Linked DNA regions of Homo sapiens: regions 2 and 3 are each linked to region 1. The links are contacts of gene promoters, found by promoter capture Hi-C in blood cells and fetal thymus (Javierre and others, 2016). All regions are on one chromosome and are shown on one strand. The core of a region is centred on a gene start or on the middle of the fragment in contact, and the rest is flanking DNA. Distances in the headings are between cores, read along the strand shown. Region 1 holds the start of NTF3 (neurotrophin 3). Region 2 overlaps LOC105369617 (a long non-coding RNA gene). Region 3 overlaps ANO2 (anoctamin 2).

Evidence for each region. The method cuts DNA at HindIII sites, captures the fragments that hold promoters and counts their contacts. A CHiCAGO score of 5 or more calls a contact.
Region 2: a fragment that was not itself captured here is called in contact with the fragment with the promoter of NTF3 in region 1 in 1 of 17 cell types (M1 macrophages); the score reaches 5.4 in M1 macrophages.
Region 3: a fragment that was not itself captured here is called in contact with the fragment with the promoter of NTF3 in region 1 in 1 of 17 cell types (megakaryocytes); the score reaches 5.6 in megakaryocytes.

The regions. Positions count from the first base shown.
Region 1 is chr12:5,430,621-5,434,185 of GRCh38, forward strand. It overlaps NTF3 (neurotrophin 3), which reads left to right and starts at 1,488. Exons shown (of 2, transcript NM_001102654.2): 1 at 1,488-1,722. The coding sequence starts at 1,705. RefSeq lists an enhancer at 2,305-2,830. The HindIII fragment of the contact is 3,984 bases long and covers 1-2,040 here.
Region 2 is chr12:5,153,678-5,157,186 of GRCh38, forward strand. All of the region lies in intron 1 of LOC105369617 (a long non-coding RNA gene), which reads left to right. Among named protein-coding and RNA genes, the nearest start is that of LINC02443, 88 kb to the right of the region's middle. The HindIII fragment of the contact is 1,221 bases long and covers 1,048-2,268 here.
Region 3 is chr12:5,862,383-5,865,871 of GRCh38, forward strand. The region is part of intron 3 of ANO2 (anoctamin 2); the gene reads right to left. Among named protein-coding and RNA genes, the nearest start is that of ANO2, 81 kb to the right of the region's middle. The HindIII fragment of the contact is 5,752 bases long and covers 1-3,489 here.

The DNA.
Region 1 (3,565 bases), core at 238-2,737:
GCTACTCTCTGCGGCCGGTTGGTCCTGAACTGGTGGGTGCAGTTCCGATGTTTAACCAAATTCTCAAGCAATTTCAAGGTATTTGGATTTTTTGAACCTGGGCCCTAACCGAAACGCGGAACGGCTTGCTTATTAGACACCTCGAACGACAGGGCAGGGAGGAAACGGGATACTCGCTGCCCTTCCCAGTCGCGCGTGAGTCAAAAGGTCCTGGCAGGAGATGATGTGAGGAGCGGCTGAAGTGGCAGGGAGGAAGGGATGAGGGGCTTGGAGCGGAGGTCCACCACGCAAGGACTCGGGAAGCGGGCAAGTGGGCAAAACTCTGCTTCCGGGCTCTCGATTTCTCGTTGATCACTAAGTGGTATTTTTCCCCCTTCTCTCGATGGCAAATGGGCGAAATCAAGATGACTTAACTTGGTAAATTTAGAGAGAACGGCTCGGAGCAAGTGAGGTCTAACGGGCAGCTAAAATTATCTCCAAATAAGAGATTTTGACCCCCTCCCCCTATCCTCTCCTCGAATGTATCCACCGGTGGGGAAGTGAGCGTCATTACTTTCGGGGCGCCACGAACAGGTTTGTTTGTTGCTCGCCTTTCCTGCTTCTCGCGCTGTCCCCGCGTGCAGACTGGTGGGTGCTGGGCGAGTGATTAGCTGCAGGGCCCCATCCTAGTTTGGAAGGAAGGGGTTTAGAAGTTGGAGGATGGGTGAAATGGGAGGCTGCGATCCATCTCCCTCTCCCTTCCACACTCAAGCTCCCGCAAACACGCGCGCGCACACACAGCCCCTCCCTAGTCCCTCGGACCACCCGCCCCCACGCCCCTCTACCTTGACCTCCCTTGACCGCCGACACAGCGTCCTGGGTGCGGGTCCCCGGGAGCGGGGAGTTCGCCGGGGAGCGATTGTCCTTGGGCGTGTTCGTGCTGTGGGGTGGGGGGAGGAGTGGCGGGTGGGCTTGGTAGGGGGTGGGGAGAGATCTGGAGCTGGAAGGGTCTAAGGTTTGGAGGAGGAGTTTACGCCTCAGACCTGATCCTCCTGAGGAAAAAGGCAGGAAAAGGCCCTGATGCCTTGTAAAGAAAATCTTGAAAGAAAAAAGATCAAAAAGAAAAATTTCAAGAAAAAGAACCACTAAGAAAGGCTGAAGACACTAACATGTAACCTGTTACGATACATTTAACGTTTCGTTTTTTCCTGGATCTCTAAAAGGGAACTCAAGGGTGGGGGTTACTGAAGAATACTACAGATTTGGAAGTTTTTGTTGCTGTTGTTGTTTGGTTTGGTTTTGTTTTTCAAGAGGGGCCAGGAGAAATGACCCCTTCCCCGCCACGGGTCCCGAAGTGAGGGCGGGGGGGGGGCTCTGGGGCGCGGGCGCGCGCGGCGCGGCGCGGGCCGGCGGGGGAGGGCGGCGCGGCGCGGAAGGGGTTAAGGCGCTGAGCGCGGAGCCATCTGGCCGGGTTGGCTGGTTATAACCGCGCAGATTCTGTTCACGGGACTCAGAGTTGAAGCTCCTCTCCCTTCCGAACAGCTCCGCGCACCGCCCCGCGACGCAGCCCGGCGCAACTACTTTCTTCTCTCTCCTTTCTTTCTTCCTCTCCTTTTTCCCCTGCTGGGTAGTGGCTGCGGCGGGGTGGGGGAGACTTTGAATGACCGAGCTCGCGTCCACCTTTCTCTTCATGTCGACGTCCCTGGAAACGGCCACACGGATGCCATGGTTACTTTTGCCACGGTAAGGGGAGGCGGCGGGCACCTTGGGTGGGCAGGTTTGGGGATGGGGGTCCACGTGGGGAGGGATTTTCCAGTGGACTGGTGCGGGGGGCCCCAGATCCGCATCCCGCCCCACCCCCATCGCGCCGCGCTCACTCACTTTCCCGGGCTTGTGTCTTCCCCAAAGTTTGCGCTGGGATCTGCTCAGGCCGAAGCGCAACCGCAGCCACCCCGCTACACACACACACACACACACACACACACACACACACACACACACACACACAGACACGGACACCCTTCTCCACCTCCTCCCCTCTTGTCCCTCGGCTGCCCAAGAAGCTTCCCTCAATCTGGGAAAGTGATCAGGTTTAAGGGACCTGGATTGGAAAGGGTGGGGGCAGAAGAGGGGAAATGGGGACGACGAAAGAGCAGGAAAGAGATTCAACAGAATCAACCACCCACCACTCCCAACCGACCCGCCTGCTCCTCCGAGAAAGCTCCTAGCGCATCCTATAACAAAAGGGGGTGGCAGACAGAACTCCGGGCGGGGAGGTGCCGCGGCAGCTCCCCTGCACACGCCCTGCACTCTGCCGGCCGCTGAGCCTGATTCTCAGCTCGCCCCAGCACCACTCTGGCCCGGGCGTGGGCTGGGGGGAGGGGACGCGCAGCTCAGGACCCGGAACCTCGCGTTCCAGTTTTGGGAGTTGGGACTCACTGCCACGCGCCGCGTACCTGCGTTGGAGTTCCCCGAAAGGGTTTTTTCAGAAAAGACCTCGCGCCCCGGGCTCCTCTTGGCCAGCGCCCACCCGGTGGCCACCCCACCCTGGGCCTTTGCGCAGATGTTGGAGCTCCGTACGCAGCCCGCACATCTGGGACCCCTCCGGGGAGCGGCGGGCACCCGGGCCCGGCCATCCCAGGGGATCTCCTTGCGGTATCGTCCAGCCTGTTCTCGGACTTTGAGCGGTGGCGTGGGAGGCCGGGAGACCTGGGCACCCGCGCAGCCAGCCAGGTCGGAGTTTAAAGGTCCCACGACGGACCGAACTGTCCCATTGCCCCAGAGCTTTACTCAGTGGTGGATGCTCCTGATGAAATTTGGGACGCTTGGGAGTTGAAGGTTAGGGACAGGAGGGGCGAGGGCCGAGGGCATGGGATGGGGGAGTAGGATTCTGCTTGTTGCTCTCCGCGGGAGTGGGTGCGCGTCCAGGAGGCGCTGCTTCTTTGCGGGAGTTTGGCTGCTGCGTTCATTCGTCGTCTGCGCTTCAGATGCACGGCACTGAGACCCTTGCGTCCGACGGTGTCGGGGCTGTGGACTAGAAAGGATCCCTTTTGCTGGAATCGAGGCTGGGGTGGGATTGCCGGTGGGGGAAACACCGAAAAGATCGTCTGGCCTCGGCCTCTGGCGGCGGGCGGCAGGTTCTGAGTCCGAATGGAGGTTGCTCCCGGGAGCGCCGGGCTCAGAGCTAGAGAGCTCGGGAGACTGTGCGCCTGTGGACTTGTTTATGTGTGTGAAGAGGCGGGGGCGAGGGCCTGCTGAGAGGGGAGGGGAGCCTGGAAGGGGTGGGTGTTTCTCCTGGAGCCTGATGTTTGTAACTCAGCTGATTATGGAGTGCACTGAGCGACCTGCTTTTTAAATAAAGAGGTGCCCGCTCCTACCCCGCAAAACAGCGAACGAGGAGAACATGGAAGCGCTCTGTCCTAAACGTCAGGATGGGAGAAAGTTGTAACATAGAGGAGACTTTTCCAGAGGTCCTGTTTTCACAACACTCAGAAGTTCTCCAGCGTACTCAGCCTGCCTCCCGCCTGCCCTCAATTCCTTTTTGACATGTCACACAAAGAAAGCTGAAAGGTAGAATGTGGAGGAT
Region 2 (3,509 bases), core at 408-2,907, 280 kb before region 1:
CTTTATTTTAGAACTTCTCTCTGCAAAAAGCATCACACGCATATGGTGTCGTCCAAGGAAGAGTCCCCAGGCTCTAAGCTGCATCTCGGCACTAGCATATCCGCAGTGTTCTCCCTGCTTCATCTCTGGTGCCCAACCTCTGTTCCCTTCAAAGCCCCTTTCTTGTCTCCCCTCACTTGATTTTCCCCAGTGTCATATTAGAGGTTTTCCCACTTCTGAGTGCTCAGAATCAGGCATTTTGCTCAATCAATTTCAAGGACGATTAGAAAAGTTCATCCAAGATCAAACGTCTTCTCTTTCTTTTTTTTTAAAAAAAGTCTGTAATGTTGAAGGGGGAACAAAGCCAAGTGTCCTCCTTCCCTGGGCTTGGGAATGGGGGGCTTGCTTCTGCCTCCCCTATTTACCCCCAACTCGAATGAGGCCTGTGAAAAGGGAGCTGCTCCTTCCCCAAGCTTCTCATTTCACCTGTAACAGTGGGGAGACACGCAGTGGCTGATAAGGATCCTCCAGGGAATTTTCTGGCTGTTAGACCAGGCCCAAGCCCTTCATGAACAGGCCATTCCCAGGGCCTCGGATTTCAGGATGAGGTGATTAGCAAGGGGGTTTCAGACCCGGCAGAGCCCTCTCCTGGCTGTGCATCTGCAGAACTAAGGAGCTGCTGTGTCTGCAGCTGCTGGGAGCTGCAGCTTGCTCTGTCTCTGAGGGTCAGCGAGGGCGTGACAGAGGGTAACAGGCAGAACTGTTAGCAGACTGGCATTGCTTCTCAGTCTCAGTCTGTAGTGAAACTGAAGAGAAAGCTCTTCTGTGCTGGCTTCAAAGATGACAAGCAGAAGAATTCCACCTCTCTTTAGTATTCTGAAATTTTTTCCATGCTCTCTTCTTCCCACACACAAAATCCTAGAATTGGAGAATTGCAATACACTAATATACTTTAAAAGCCTTTGGAGTACAGTTCTCCTCATTTTACATATAGGGAAACAGTCATGAAAAGAGGGAGAGTGGCTTGCCACAGACCACACATTAAAGAGTGTCAGGGTGGGGATAAAAAGCTTTCTTACTTCTTACCCCTGAGAACCATCCCATTGATTCCCAACATCTGGTCATGAGCACAGAATTTTCATTATTTTTGGCATATCTGTAAACACCTGTGCTATTACTTAATACTTTTTCTTTAGCCAGATCCATTTTTTACTTAAATGCAGTTATTTTAAAAGGAAACTATGTCACTAATGCCTATGGAAAAGCAGCATTACTTGCCTTAAATATTGGAGACCAAAAGGCAAATGTGATTAATGGAAAATGACATTGTGGAATGAGCTGGGTACTGTAGTCTGTTGAGGGTTCTTGTGTCAAGACCTATTTGGGGGATTACAGTAGGAGCTAAGAGTTTGAAAAGTGTTAACAAGATCCTGGCACCCGACCGACACATTCTCCTTGAAGGGAAGGAGGAGAATCGAAATGGAACATCCCTGCTAAAAACCACCAGTGCTCCTCCATGCACCAGCACAGTTTTCTCTGGATACCCATGGTACATGTTCTTCACTTTGGGGTCTCTGCCTTGGATCATGGTGTCTTCAGAAGGATGGTGGGCTCTTTGCCTTGCTGTTCTCCCTTCTCAAGGGTTAGGCTGCACAGATGCCGAAGGTAGACACAATAGTCCTTACACATTTCAAAAAATATGGACAATGTTTCCTACGGAGGAACAAATTTTTCTGTCAGATGGTGAAATTTCTCACAATATTCTGGTTGAGAACATCCTTGAGAGGGAAGTAGGGTAAGGGAGAGTGATTAAGGACATTTTGGGGTCAAGAGATAGCTAAGTGATTTTCTGTACACTAGATATCCTCCACCTCCCCTTTATCCACACCCCCGTATGCCACAGTGACACACATCATTCTCAGTGATGATGGAAATGAACAGGATTCCCTGCTCATGGGAATAGCAAACAATCGCTCTGCATGTGGTCTGAGGCTCAGGAGTCCAGGTGAAATCAAGTCTGCCCAGTCCTGAGTTGTCCATCCTTTCACCACCTCCCCTCTTCTGTATTATCACCACAAGGAAAGAACCGTCAGCAAATTGTTCCTAAGCACCTGGCACTGTGCTAGGTGTTTGCACCTGCACTTACAGTGGCTTTGTGTGGTTGAGACAGGGTTCCTTTATATTAAAGGACAGCAAGGACATACATGCCACATACAAGATGATGGGGGTCCCAGGAACATTCTGGGAGCCTGAGGAGGGAGTGAGGCCAGAAGCTCAATGCAGCAGGGAAGCTTTGTGGAGGAGGTAGGATTTTTGCAGAACTTCCTTCTCCCTATTTCCCCTGGTCTTCCTCCTTCCCCTCTTGCCCTTGTCCGGTTCGCACTGACAGCGGCCGGCGGGAGGGTTGGCTCTCACTCCTGGATGTGGGCTGAACAAGCATCCCGGAAGCCTGCGGTGGTGGGAGGCTGGCCAGGTGGACAGCACCCACGCTGCTGCTTGTGGGATCCTCGAAGACAGATTTACCAGTTGCCAAATTCTCCTTGTAGCCCACTCTCCTCCCTGAGGCCCCACACAGCAATTCCTGAGGCCTGGTGAGGGGAGGAGAGGGCTCAGAAAAGGCAGGTGAAACAGAATCACACACAAACTACAGAGACTCTGCAGGACCATCTCCAGCAGATTCCACCTCTGCCTCTACAACACCCCTCAGGCCAGAGGGAGAACACAGGCTGGCAGATCTGCAGTTTTCACTCCGCTGTGGCTCCTCCTTGCTCTACATCATTGTCTTGGAGGGTTAGGGAGCATCACAGGAAGCCTGTAGGGACAGCCCAGGCAATGGGGCCAAGGAAGCAGGTACCTTTCAAAAAGGCCAAAAGACGACAAAGAAAACTGTTGGGTGCAGGCAGGTGGGGCTGCCTCAACCCATGCCCAGCATGGGCTCTGTGAGCTGAGACCTCAGGGGTCAGGGTCACCCACTGCCAACTACACAACAAGTAAAGCGAATGAGGCCAGGGCACTGAAAATGCCTGAGGTTGTCTGTGCCTCCCAGAACCTACCTGTTGGCTCGCAAACCGTTGGGGTGTGATCTCACTGTACAAATGAGGAAATGCAGTAGTAAGCCAAGGGGACTTAGCCCAGTGTGACACAAAACATGAATGGTAAAAATCAAAAGTTGAACCTACTTCTCCCCCTTCTACATCCAGTTTGCCCAAATGCCTTTGGTAATTTGGGGTAAGGGGTGCAGTGGTGGGGAGACTGTTCAGATTGAAATAACAGTGAAATATTTCCAAGTGATATAGAATGGCCTGGGCCAGACTGAGCCACCTCTGGCTGTTCTGTGGTTGCTTGGGTCATGGGTTACACACAAGGTCTGGCTGTTGTGACCTCCGTCCCATGTGCCCCGAAGGTGGGATTCTTGTTCCACCACTGTGAACACTGCCTGCAAAGCTGGGGGCTCCTGGCCCTACTGCCCGTGGTCCCTGGTGGGCCATCTGAAGGCCATCCCACTGGGATCTTCCCTGTATTTACCGGCA
Region 3 (3,489 bases), core at 705-3,204, 430 kb after region 1:
TCCTATGGACATGAAAACTCAGCCACTTTTGTCGTATTTCTGGGTGCCAACCTGGACAGACACGCAGAACGGGTGATCTCTGGACCTATCACCACAGTCTCCACTCCGTGTATCACACATCATTGCACTCCAACCAGAGGCAGCCCAGGAACAACTCCTCAAAGCCCAAGTGAAGAGGAAGCAGTGAGGGGAGCCCAGGGAGACTGAGGAGTCCAACCCTCTGATAGGGTCTGACTCTGTCCCTGCCCAAATCTCATCTTGAATTGTAGCTCCCATAATTCCCACATGTTGCGGGAGGGACCTGGTGGGAGGTAACTGAATCATGGGGGCGGTTTCCCCCATACTGTTCTCGTGGTAGTGAATAAGCTCACAAGATCTGATGGTTTTATAAGGGAAAACCTCTTTCTTTCTTTCTTTCTTTTTTTGAGACAAAATTTCGCTCTTGTTACCCAGGCTGGAGTGCAATGGCGCAATCTTGGCTCACTGCAACCTCCACCTCCCAGGTTCAAGCAATCCTCCAGCCTCAGCCTCCTGAGTAGCTGGGATTACAGGCACCCACCACCACACCCAGCTAATTTTTTGTATTTTTTTCTTTTTTTTAGTAGAGACGGTGAGGGGAAACCCCTTTCATTTGGTTCTCAATTCTCTCTTGTCTGCTGCCATGTAAACACATGCCTTTCACCTTCCACCGTGATTGGGAGGCCTTCCCACCCACGTGGAACTGTGAGTCCATTAAACCTCTTTTTCTTTATAAATTACCCAGTCTCTGGTATGTCTTTTTTAGCAGCGTGAGAACAGACTAATACACCCTCCAACATATCAAGGGTGAGAGAACCTCTTCCCCACTCAACCCCTGAGCTGCAGAGGACCCCAAAGGCAGCACGGCACCTTGAAAGACCTAACCTATGGGGAGTCAGCAACAGAGTGTGACTCAGGCTTCTCTAGGTGTTATTCTACTTCAGAAATCCTACAGGTGGAAGAAATAGGGAATAATCCTCACCATGTAAGATAGGCCCCGGGAAGGCCATGGGTTCTGGAGCCTGAGGACCAGGCCTTGGGCCCCAGCTCTGTCACTTACCAGCTGCACCATTTCCAACAAGCCACCAAAGCTCTCTCGGATTGACAGGCAATGTTAAATAATTGTAATAATTAATAATAATACCACTTGGAGGAGAGAAGGATAGACTTTACAAAAGGACCTGTGGAAATGTTTGGGGGTGGTAGATATGTTCATTTTCTTGATTACAAGACAGTGATGGTTTCACAGTGATGGTTTTGAACACATGTCAAAACTCAACAGATTGGATACTTTAAATATGTGCAGTTTATTATACATCAGTTATACCTCAAAAAGGCTAGAGGGAAAAGATATGCAAAAATGTAAAACAATGCAACACTTCTTGTAACTTTTTTTGTTTTAAAAAATCATTATTTTTAATTATAATGTTTTATGTTAAATAAACATTATTTACTTAACAATATGTTATATATTCGTTAGCTTTTAATTAATAATAAATATTCAAAAGTGAATAATGATTTCATGGTATCTCAGAATCAAATAAGGTTGTACATATGAAGGTATTTTGTAAACTATGAAGTGTCTACAAAAGGATTTTTTAAAGAGCAAGTGCAGGGATAGGCACTGTGAAATCTCTGCCTTGGTACTCAAAGCACAGGGCATACCCATGTTCCTAGGGCCAAAAAAACACATGTCCTTGACCCCTGTGGGAATCCCACCATGTTTCTTGGATCCCACATAAAAAAAATCATAGCTGAGCCCACCGAGGCAGTAGCCCCTGGCATGTAACTGAACACCACCAAGTGAGGATGAAGATAAAAGTGAACATTTCTCTTGGGAGTTTATGATGCTCAAAGATAACAGGCTGAAAGTAGCCAGATGCAACATTTCTACCAAAAATGAGAGAATGACAATCCATAAGCCCCAAAGATGTTGGCAGAAAGAACAGGGCCTCTCCCAAAACTCAGGGAGGCCAGTAGGCTGGCGCCTGGGCTTCCAGCACACAGAACCAGCCCAAACAGGGGATCCTGGATGAACTGTGAGGAAAGACCCAAGGAAAATGCTGCTGTTTCCTATTCATCACAGTGAAATTGTTCTGGACAGTCGCCATCCTGCAAGTGGAATCAGATGCTGTGGATGCTAACTCTCAGCAATGGGTGTGCCTCTCCCTCACCCCCACCAGGACACGGAGAGCACTTCAGTGCCTGAGGAATGGAAGGCAAGAGAGCAATGGGCAAAGGGGTGCCCTAGCTGGTCATTAGTAAATACTCAGACCACAGATGATCAGTAGGTCCTGGCTGGCCTGGAACAGTCTCTGTTTATTCCCCTTGCCTCATCATCCCATCAAGTTTAGGATTTTAGCATTCTCAAAAATGTCCCAGGCTAGACAAGCAAATCACAGGATCAACCTGTGAGCACCACTACACTTAATAGCCATCAAACCTTTGAGCAAGAATGCCCAGTATCCCCTTCCTGTCTTTCATTTATTTGGCCCATGTGAAAAATATCCCACTCAGAGAGAAGCATTCCCAGGCATTTAAAAGCTGGTCATATTAACTCTGAAAGCCCTATCTCTTCATTATCTCTAATGTCTCTCCTGACTTAAAATTTGCATGATTCCTTGATTTTGCTACTTTTCTTCCAACCTCAAGACACCTCCCTAAACCCTTTATGTTATCAGTAATTAACTCCCCTCCCCCACAAGGATATGCCCCTGCCTTCTCTTAGCAGTGACTCATCTCTCCCTTAAAGAATCTTTACACTATTTTCCTATGATTCAATCATCCTAACAAAGTTCAATTCAACAAGTATTTATTGGGCAACGACTGTGTGCTTGGCAATGTGCTAAGAGTTAGGGCATATGAAAGAAATCTAAGCCATCATGCCATCACACCATCATGCCATCACATCACCATGCATTCACACCATCATGCCACCACACCATCATGCCATGACACCATCATGCATTCAAACCATCATGCCATCACATCACCATGCATTCACACCATCATGAATTCATACCATCAAGAATTCACACCATCATGCCACCACACTACCATTTCATCACACCATCATGCATTCACACCATCATACATTTACACCAGCATGCCATCACACCATCATACATTCACACCATCATGCATTCATACCATCAAGAATTCACACCATCATGCATTCATACCATCATGCCACCACACCATCATGCCACCACACCATCATGCCATCACACCATCATACCATCACACCATCATGCATTCACGCTATCGTGCATTCACACTATCATGCCACCACAGCATTATGCCACCATATCATCAGGCCATCACACCATTATGCATTCACACCATCATGCAATCACACCATCATGCATTCACACCATCATGCATTCACACAATCATTCATTCACACCATCATGCCACCATACCATCATGCAGTCACACCATTTTCATTCTCTTTGGAAACCAGATAAATGA